3 separate regions of the Homo sapiens genome follow, and all the other regions are linked to region 1. The links are contacts of gene promoters, found by promoter capture Hi-C in human tissues and cell types (Jung and others, 2019). All regions are on one chromosome and are shown on one strand. The core of a region is centred on a gene start or on the middle of the fragment in contact, and the rest is flanking DNA. Distances in the headings are between cores, read along the strand shown.

What was found. The method cuts DNA at HindIII sites, captures the fragments that hold promoters and counts their contacts. A contact is called where the count stands out against the background at its distance.
Region 2: a contact is called between the fragment with the promoter of MTA1 here and the fragment with the promoter of CDCA4 in region 1, in 2 of the 25 tissues and cell types used here (dorsolateral prefrontal cortex and liver).
Region 3: a contact is called between the fragment with the promoter of INF2 here and the fragment with the promoter of CDCA4 in region 1, in 1 of the 25 tissues and cell types used here (liver).

The regions. Positions count from the first base shown.
Region 1 is chr14:105,019,659-105,022,469 of GRCh38, forward strand. CDCA4 (cell division cycle associated 4) reads right to left here and starts at 1,425. Exons shown (of 2, transcript NM_017955.4): 1 at 1,341-1,425. RefSeq lists enhancers at 1-150, 602-1,117, 1,632-2,145, 2,161-2,220 and silencers at 771-860, 871-1,760, 1,791-1,860. The HindIII fragment of the contact is 13,458 bases long and covers 1-2,811 here.
Region 2 is chr14:105,418,380-105,421,190 of GRCh38, forward strand. MTA1 (metastasis associated 1) reads left to right here and starts at 1,448. Exons shown (of 21, transcript NM_004689.4): 1 at 1,448-1,684. The coding sequence starts at 1,657. MTA1-DT (MTA1 divergent transcript) reads right to left here and starts at 1,360. Exons shown (of 2, transcript NR_125385.1): 1 at 643-1,360. RefSeq lists an enhancer at 1-314 and silencers at 1,012-1,111, 1,142-1,191, 1,282-1,541. The HindIII fragment of the contact is 32,458 bases long and covers 1-2,811 here.
Region 3 is chr14:104,688,281-104,691,091 of GRCh38, forward strand. It overlaps INF2 (inverted formin 2), which reads left to right and starts at 1,338. Exons shown (of 23, transcript NM_022489.4): 1 at 1,338-1,459. RefSeq lists enhancers at 1-319, 320-1,309 and silencers at 1,002-1,261, 1,362-1,451, 1,472-1,711, 1,802-1,851. The HindIII fragment of the contact is 30,363 bases long and covers 1-2,811 here.

The DNA of each region.
Region 1 (2,811 bases), core at 175-2,674:
AGTCTCCTGGAGGCTGTTCATGAACAATTACTGTTATGTTAATTTCAGGTATTTGGTTTTTTTTGTTTTTTGAGACGGAGTCTCGCTCTGTCGCCCAGGCTGGAGTGCAATGGCACGATCTCGGCTGAGACCTCTGCCTTTCTGGTTCAAGCGATTCTCCTGCCTCAGCCTCCCACATAGCTAGGATTATGATTACAGGCATGCGCCATCACGCCCAGCTAATTTTTGTATTTTTAGTACAGACGGGGTTTCACCACGTTGGCCAGCTAGTCTCGAACTCGGGACCTCAGGAGATCCACCCGCCTAGGCCTCCTCTCAAAGTGCTGGGAGGTGTGAGCTACCGCGCCCAGCCAATTGCAGGTACTTTTGTTACTTGGAACGAAACACACTCCTTCTTTTCCCTGAAAACATGTTCCAGTGGCAAGTTGAGGGAAACTTCCTAGCCCCTTTTCCAAGATACAGCCTACTACTCTTCCTAGAAAAGGGGTGTAACTCACTTTGTATTCTGGATTTCCACCCTAATTATAAAACACGGTGACACTTGAAAATAGAGTGGTTGTACGTAGAAAGTTGATAAAACGTAAGTTTTGTGAACAGGCAATGTTTTTCTGTGGCTCGCTTTGAGAGAACGGTTATCTGGGTCCCGCCGTCCCGTGCGTCCCACACGAAGGCCACAGGAGAAGCGAGGCAGCGGAGACCCTCTATTCCAGCAAGCTGTCGGAGCCTTTGCCACGACGATCCTGTTTGCGGGGCGAGAAGCGTCTGAAGACGCGGAGGGAGGCTTGCGTCTGACTTCTGCAAGTGTCTCGGGGACTTTCCCTAGTCCCACCTCGCACCGCCGGAGGAGCCCAGGGAAGACGGCGCTGGCCGACCCGCCCGGGGTCTGGGCCTCCTCCCACATCCGCGGCCCTCTCCGCGGCCGGGCTCCGACAGAGGGGGCTGCGGCGCGCCTGGCGTTCCCTCCGCTGCAACTAGAGCCGAGGTACGGGAAACGCCGCTGCGTACCCCAGCCGGGCCCTCGTGAAGCGGCTCCCGCGTGGGGCCGCCCGCAGGCCTCGGCAAAGCCCCAGCTCCGCGCTCCGCAAGGAACGCAGACGGCGGCCCGGGCCCCTCTGTTCCCCGGGCCCCCTCAGCAGCGGCCACCCCGCGGGGGAACCAGCGCCCAGGAGGGCGGCGAGGGCGCCGCGGCAGCCCCAGCGGTGGTCCCGGGCGCCGCCTCCGCCCCGGACCCAGCGCCAGGAGCCACAGACTCCGCGCACCGCCCCCAGGCTCCTCCGCGCCCTGCAGCACAAAAGTGCACGCCGCCGTAGACGCCCTAGCGGTCCGCCGGGCCCGCTCACCTGACCCGCGAGGCCGCCCGCCGGGTCCTCTGCTCAGCCACCGCCACCGCCGCTGCCGCCAGCTTCCCGCCGCTGAGGAAGGAGCGCCCGACGGCGCGGGGCGGGGCGAGCGACCGCCACTCGGCGTCCACAAAGGGTCGACGCTGCGCTCTCCGCGCGCTACGCCCGCTGATTGGCCACTCGCGGGCCGGGGGCGGGGCCTCTTGTTCAAACCCACGCGGGCGGGGCATCTGTGGCGCGTCTTCCCGCGCTGCGGCGACGGCCGTTGGGGCTCGCGCGCGCCCTCGGTTGCCCCGCCCCCGCCCCTGCGCCCGGCCCCGCCACGCCCACGCCCCGCCGGCTCCCAGGTCTCCCCGCGCCCAGTCCGGCCCCGCCCCGCCAGCTCCCAGGTCTCCGCGCGTCTGGCCCTGAACTGAACGCGCCTGCGCCTGGGGCCCACGTGGGGCCCTCGGGCGGGCGTGGCGGGGCAAACAGAGGTTTGGACTCTCTCGCTTCTGCCTGGCTCAACTTCTCCGCCGAGGCATCCGTGCCGGGGTCGGGAGGAGCCGGGCACGGCAATTCCCGGGCGGTCTGGGCTCCGAGGTCTATCCAAGCCTCTCCAGAGACCGGGGTTATCTCCAAAGGCTTCCTAGGTTTACACGTAAGAAATGTAACGTGAAAGTTCAAAGCAGGGGACACGTGTTTTAAATCTCTTAGTGGAAAAGGTTTTAAATAGGATGCGAGAACCTGCAATCATTGACTTAAGTAATACCCTGAGCGCCTGCAGCAGGCCCGGCAGGCGTGGCTGCAGCTGAGAGCCAAGTGCTGGAAGTTGGGGGGGAATCCTCAGATCAATCCGCAGGTGCGGATGCGCCAAGGTCGGTGGTAAATGCTGAAATGCTGTCGGGAAACCTGGGAGTGACGTGGGGGCGCTGCTCACATAGGTCTCTAGGATAAGGAGCGTCTTAAAGCACCAAAAGGAAGAGTGGACGAGAATTCAGGAGAGGAATGGCTGGGGCAAAGCCCGAGGCAGGGGCAGGAGGCAGGAGCACGTCTCAGTGCAGTGAGAAAGAACCCTGTGATCTCGTGGGAAAGTTTTAAGTGTGAGGGGTGGAGGGACTTTTGGGCTATTCTGGGAGTGGGATGGAGACTACTGGCATGGTCAGCAGAGAAGGAACTGGAATCTGAATTGTGCTTGAAAAGAATCACTGTTCTTATTTAAAAAAAAAAAAAAGGGGGTCTCTTTCGCCCAGGCTGGACAACAGTGGCGTGATTATGGCTCACTGTATCCTCGAACTCTTGTGCTCGAGTGATTCTCACGCCTCAGCCTCCCAAGTAGCTGGGACTACAGAAGTGTGCCACTACACCAAGCTAACTTTTTTTTTTTTTTTGGTAATTTTGTAGAGACAGGGTATTGTCTTGTTACACAGGCTGGTCTCCAACTCCTGGCCTTAAGTGATCCTCCTACCTTGGCCTCCCAAAGTTCTGGGAT
Region 2 (2,811 bases), core at 198-2,697, 400 kb after region 1:
GAGACGCTGCCTGTCTGTCATTGCCCCTCTCCTGCACCTGGCCGCTGGCTGGCTGCTCTTCCCTCCCAATCACCAGCAAGCCAGCTCCTGTTCCCTGCAGCCCAGCCCGCAGGATGTGTCCTGGGACCCATAGCCCTCTCTCCCCAGAGACAGCACCGCCCTGCAGCTCGGGTTCCTGGCCCTGTGCTAACCCTGGTGGGGCTTTCCTTACTGGTCTGCTCTGCAGCCATGACATTGTGGCCACCGCTCTCCTTGGGACCCCCACCTGGCTTTCCTCCCAGCACATGCTGTTTCCTACCCACCTGGATGGTGTCCTGTGTGCTGGATTCCCCATGCTGTGTCCCCAGCATCCTGACCATGTCTGTCCCGCCTGCCTAGATCTTGCACCGTGGCCACGGGGCTCCCTCCTGATAGCCCTGAACGCTCCGCTCCATGTCCTACAGAGAGGGATGTCCCAAGTAGATGTCAGCTCCCTCCAGCATCTGAGCAGGCAGGACAGAGACCCACGGTGCTGCTCACATCAGCAGCCTGGAACCCCGAGACAGCTCCTTTTGCTCACCTCCCCCAACACTGATGTTGCACCTGTCTCCAAGCCACTCTGGGACCATCTGTTTCTCTCCATCTGGGAAGCCCCCTTCGCACCTCATGCTCTTCCTGGCTGGGGCGTCTGGGTCACTCACTGGACTCTCCTCTCCTTAGACCTGTGCACAAGCACACACGGGAAGGCATCCTGACAGGTGGTGGGAAGAGAAGGCAGCTGCCTCACTGCGGAAAGAGCACGGCCGCTCCTGGACTCCAGCCCTGTTGGGGCTGGCGGGGTCAGCAGGCGCTGGGTTCCAGCCTCAGGTGGGGTCTTTGGAGGTGGCCTCTGGGCACAGGCACCTCCTCTGCGGCCTTCTCACCAGGTCACGGTTCAGGGAGGCTTTGCCGGCTACGGAGCCTGCCCACACCAAGGCGCGCACGACCACCTGTCCAGAGATGCCACGCGGGCTGGGCGGCGAAGGCCAAGGACACGCCCTGCCTGGTGTCGGGGGCAAAGGTTAGGCCTGGAAGGGAGGTGTGGGGTGGGGACCCCGAGGCCAGGGCTGGGCCGCTGAGCTTCAGGGCCCTTGGGGGGCTCAGGGAGGAATGCCGGAGGACCCCAGCATCAGGAGGAACCCCTGGAGAGCTACGGCAGGACTCACCTGTGGGGCACAGGGAGGGATCACCAGGGAAATGGCCCTTGTGGAGGATCTCCCCTCTACCCCCAGGGCACCAGGGGAGGATCTACCAGGGGGTTCTGGTGGAAGGGCCCACCCGGGAAGCGGCGCGCGGGGAGGACTCGGGGGCGCCGAGAGGAACTGTCCGGGAAGGGGCGCGCGGGCCGCGGGCGGCGCGGGGTCGGTAACGGCCCGTGCGGTGGGCGGCGGCGCCCGAGGCCCCTCCCCGCCGCCCGCGGCCGCTCCTCCTCTTCCTCTCCCGCCCGCGCCGCGGCCCTCCCGTCCCTGCGCGGCCTCGGCGGCCTCGGCGGCGGCGGCGGCGGCGGCGGCGGCAGCAGCGCGGCCCCTTTAAACGCCTGCGGCGCCCCCCGCCCCCGCCATCGCGCCTCCATTTTCCCGGCCGCCCGCGCCGAGCGCCGCGCCCGCCCCGGGCCCCTCCGCCGCCGCCGGCCCGGACATGGCCGCCAACATGTACAGGGTCGGAGGTAAGGCCGCACCGCCTTTATGCCCGGCCCCGACCCGCCCGCAGCCCCCACCCGCCGCCGCTGCCGCCTCCCCCGCCCCTCTGCCCCGCAGGCCCCGCGCCCCCCGCCCGCCCTCGCGGCCCCCGGCTCCTTCCCGAACCGCCCCCCGCCGTGCTCACCCCAACCCAAAATGGCCCCGCGGGTCGGCCCCATCGGGGGCGGGCGGGGCTCGGCGGCCCGGGGGTGGGGGGCGGCCCACCTGTTGGGGCCGAGGGGGCGGCCGCGGGGGTGGCGGGGGGGCGCGGGGCCTGCGGGACATCCGGGGGTCCGGGGCCGGGAGCCCCCAGCGGGAGCACGTGGCCTTGGGAGGCGCCGGCTGCCGGTCTGGGAGCAGGAGTTTTGGGGCTGTGGGGTCTCCCCCGGCCCGCGGCCCTGTGCTGGGACTCCGGTGCATCCCCTCTGGGGATGGGGAGCCCCGGTGAGGGGCCACGTTCCTCCCTAGAGCCCTCCTGCAGCCTGGCCCCGGGGCTTCCCCCAGCAGGGATCCCTCAGGGGGTCTTCAGCAGGGAGCGAGCATCCCGAGCACGCCTCTAAGTCCCCCCAAACTTTTCCCTGCCTCTCGCTCACCTCAGCCCATTCGGGAGGCGCTTTGCAAGGGTTGGGGAGAGGCCGGAGGGCCTCCTGGGCAGGGGCTTCCTCCGTGGGCCCAGCCTCCTGTTGCTCGGGCCCCCCGGGCCTGCAGCTTTGAGCCTTGCCCTCCTTCGTGTGCCTGGGACTCCGTGGGGTCTTTCACAGGAAGGTGGGGGGTCGTGTGCATTCCATCATTCCATCAGCGCCTCCCTCCCCAGGACTCTGAGACCCCTCCCTGCCTGTGACCCTCTCGGGCAGGTGCTCATTACCTTTCCCACCTGCAGCCTGCGCTGCTGGAGGGAGCTGGGGTCACTCCCGCTCTGGCTTGATCCCCATGCCCCTGACCCCGAGTGCCCAGAACACTCTGTGTCTCTCGAGCGTGGCTTCTGCTGCCTTGGACGCCGTGTGGTCTGGCCGGCCAGTCCTGTGACCTTGGGGACGGTGGGAGCCCCCTACATCCCGTCTGTGAGATGGGCGGTCAGTCCGCATCAGCAGCTCTGGGCCTCCCCTGTCCTCTC
Region 3 (2,811 bases), core at 88-2,587, 330 kb before region 1:
GGCTGCTGGGCAGGGCAAGGTCCGCACAGGGAGCAGACAGACGCAGCCTGCAATTCGGCGCTTATCCCCACCGGAGCGGAGGCACACCAAAGCCAAAGGACACGCAGCTGGCCTCAAAGCAGAAGCTGCATCGGGGCTGGGAAGCCATTCAGGAGCCCTTTTCTCTCCCCTCGCCCTCACCCTGAGCCCTGGCCGCCACGGCCCACACAGCAGGCCCTCCGGAGAGAGATGTCAGGACTCCGAGTGGAGACACTTTATCCGCATGTTCTTGACCCTCATACAGCCCTTACGGGTACTTATTCTATTTTACAGATGGGGAAACTGAGGCTCCACAGAGTCATATCCGAGCCTGAGGCCGCACAGGGAGTGCTGGCGCCGGTTCTCAGGGCAGGGGTTGTGTCTGCTCTGTCACATGTCACACGGGGGCTCCCCCAGGCCTGCCTTCCTCTGCCCTCCCTCTAGCTGCCAGTGGCCCCCAAACCCCAGGCCTGGTGCGCTGCTTCCTGCAGCTCTGACTGAGGGTCAGACGTCAGAAGGGACTTCCAGAGCTGGGGTCTGGCTCTCATCCAACCAGGCTGGCTTTCAGAGCCGACTATGGGCACGCCCCATGCTGGTCAATGTCGGCGGTGGGGGGATGGGTGCCCCCCTCAATCTAGGAGACAGATGAGGCCGGACAGCAGAGGGGTGGCAGAGAAAACCCACCCCATTGCGACACCTCCGCGGCCCTCATGCAGCTGTCTCCACCAACCGGCGAAGTGCGGCTGCCCAAGACCGCCGAGACCCCATCAAGGGTGGAAGGGGGTCAGGCAGGGCTGCGGAGAGGAGGCCACATGGGTGGCCTGGTTGATGGGTAGGCTCTCTCTCCCCAAAGCCTGGGAAGAGCCATCTCTGCTGAGGGATCCCCGAACGCGGGGACTCCGGATCCGGCTGGCTGGAACGGGAGTCCCGGGCCGGGGCAGAGAGAGGTGAGCGGCGCCTGGGAGGCCAGTCCCACCGGAGGATAGGGGTGTAGGTGGACGGGAGGCGGTGGAGGGCAGGGACGGGGCGGACAGTGGGGGCTGAGGCGGGAGACGGCCCCGATCTGCGCGTCCCACCCCCATCTCCGCCCACCAGGAGCCAGGCCAGCAGGGACCGCGAGGGGGCGGCCAGGTTATTCACGGGAGTGGGGAGACCCCTTAAAGCGCCCTCAGGGACCGGCCACAGTGGGCGGGGCCACCCCCAGCCACCCACCTCCCCCCCCAGGCCCCGCCCCCGGCCCGCGCTCGCTCCCCACGTGGCCGCTGACGGGCGGGGCGGCACCTCCTCTTCCTCCCGCCCGCCCCGCCCGCCCCGCGCCCGCCAGGAGCCACCGTCCGAGCCTTGCGGAGCGCGGCAGTGGGCGCCGGCTGCCCGCAGCCCCTGACCCGGCCCCGGACGGAGCGCCGGCCGCACCACCGCCCTCTGGCCGTTGCCTCACCGGGTAAGTCCTTGGCCTCGGGGTCCGCTTGGAGCTTCAGGGGAAACTGAGTCCGGGAGGAGGCAGGGGCGTGCTTGGGTCCAGGAGCGAGGTTCCGGGCTGCGGCGTGTGTGCCCAGGTGGCGGCGGGCGGTCCGGCGGCGCAGGGTACAGTTCCCGGGCGGGGACCCCAGGGCGCCCCTGGCCCCCCCGGCTCCGCGCGCCCCGCTCGGGACTATGGTCCTCCGCGCCGAGGCACCGCCCGAGCGCGCACTGGCCGCAGAGTGGTGGGCCCAGGGTCGGCCGGGCCTACTCCCAGGGCAGGCGGGATTTCCGCGCCTCGCGGCTGCCACATCCTGACCATGAATCAGCCACAGTTGGGAAAATAAACTTCAACTTCGGGTCCGCCGCCCGGGTGGCACCCCGAGGTGCGCGCCGGCCTGCGGCCCCACCCTGACTGCTTGGCTTCCAGCTGCCCACGCGCAGGTGGGCGCACAGGGAGCCCTTCCCACCCCGCAACCGCTGGCAGGCTTAGGGGAATCAGCCTCCATCACAGCTCTCTGTTCCTTTTGGGTGGGGTAGGATCCAATCCCTGTACGCCCCCAGACCCACCCGTCAACCCTCTAACTGGGGAGTCGCCCCAGGAGTGACCATGACTAAGGAGGGGAAGGCGGGGTGACCAGCTGTGTCCCTGACCGTCCCCAATGCCCCCTGGGGAGCACAGGCGTGGGGGGTGGTCTGTCTGTCTGGGCCTTCTGGGGCTCAAGCTCCCCACCCAGGGCTCCCGCAGCTCAGCTGTGACCACAGCATTACTGCCCACTCCAGCTGGACACACCAGGAGGCAGAGAGGCAGAGACCCTGCCCAGGCAGGGAACCAGGAACCCAGGAACCGGGCCAGAGGTCAGGCACACCCAGAAGGCGCTGGACGTAGGAAATTCCCTTACTGCCAGCCCTGCCCCTCCGTCTGGCACTGGAATGGAGCAGGATACTCGCCCTCTTCCGGCCTCAGTTTCCACATCTGCACTCTGAAGGGTGGGACAGCAGCTCAGGCTGGGACCTGCTCCCTGCCGCCCTGCACTGGGAAGGTGGGGTCCCAGAGCAGTGCCTCAGACCCCGAGGGTGCCACCCAGCCAGGGGCTTTTGGGGTGTCGGTGCTCAGCCCCCAGTGCAGCAAATAGTAGCATTGGGTTCCAGGCCTGGGGTCTGAGACCTCACACTGCTCCCACCCCTACCAGGGCAGCAGCAATTTTCTGTTCTAAAAGCCAGGTTGGTGCAGTGGGCCCTGCCCAGGCCCTGCCCTCCCATCCCTGGACTGTCATGGGCCCTGCAGCCCGGCAAAGGGGATGTCGCTAGTGGGGACGGACCAAGTGGCCAGGT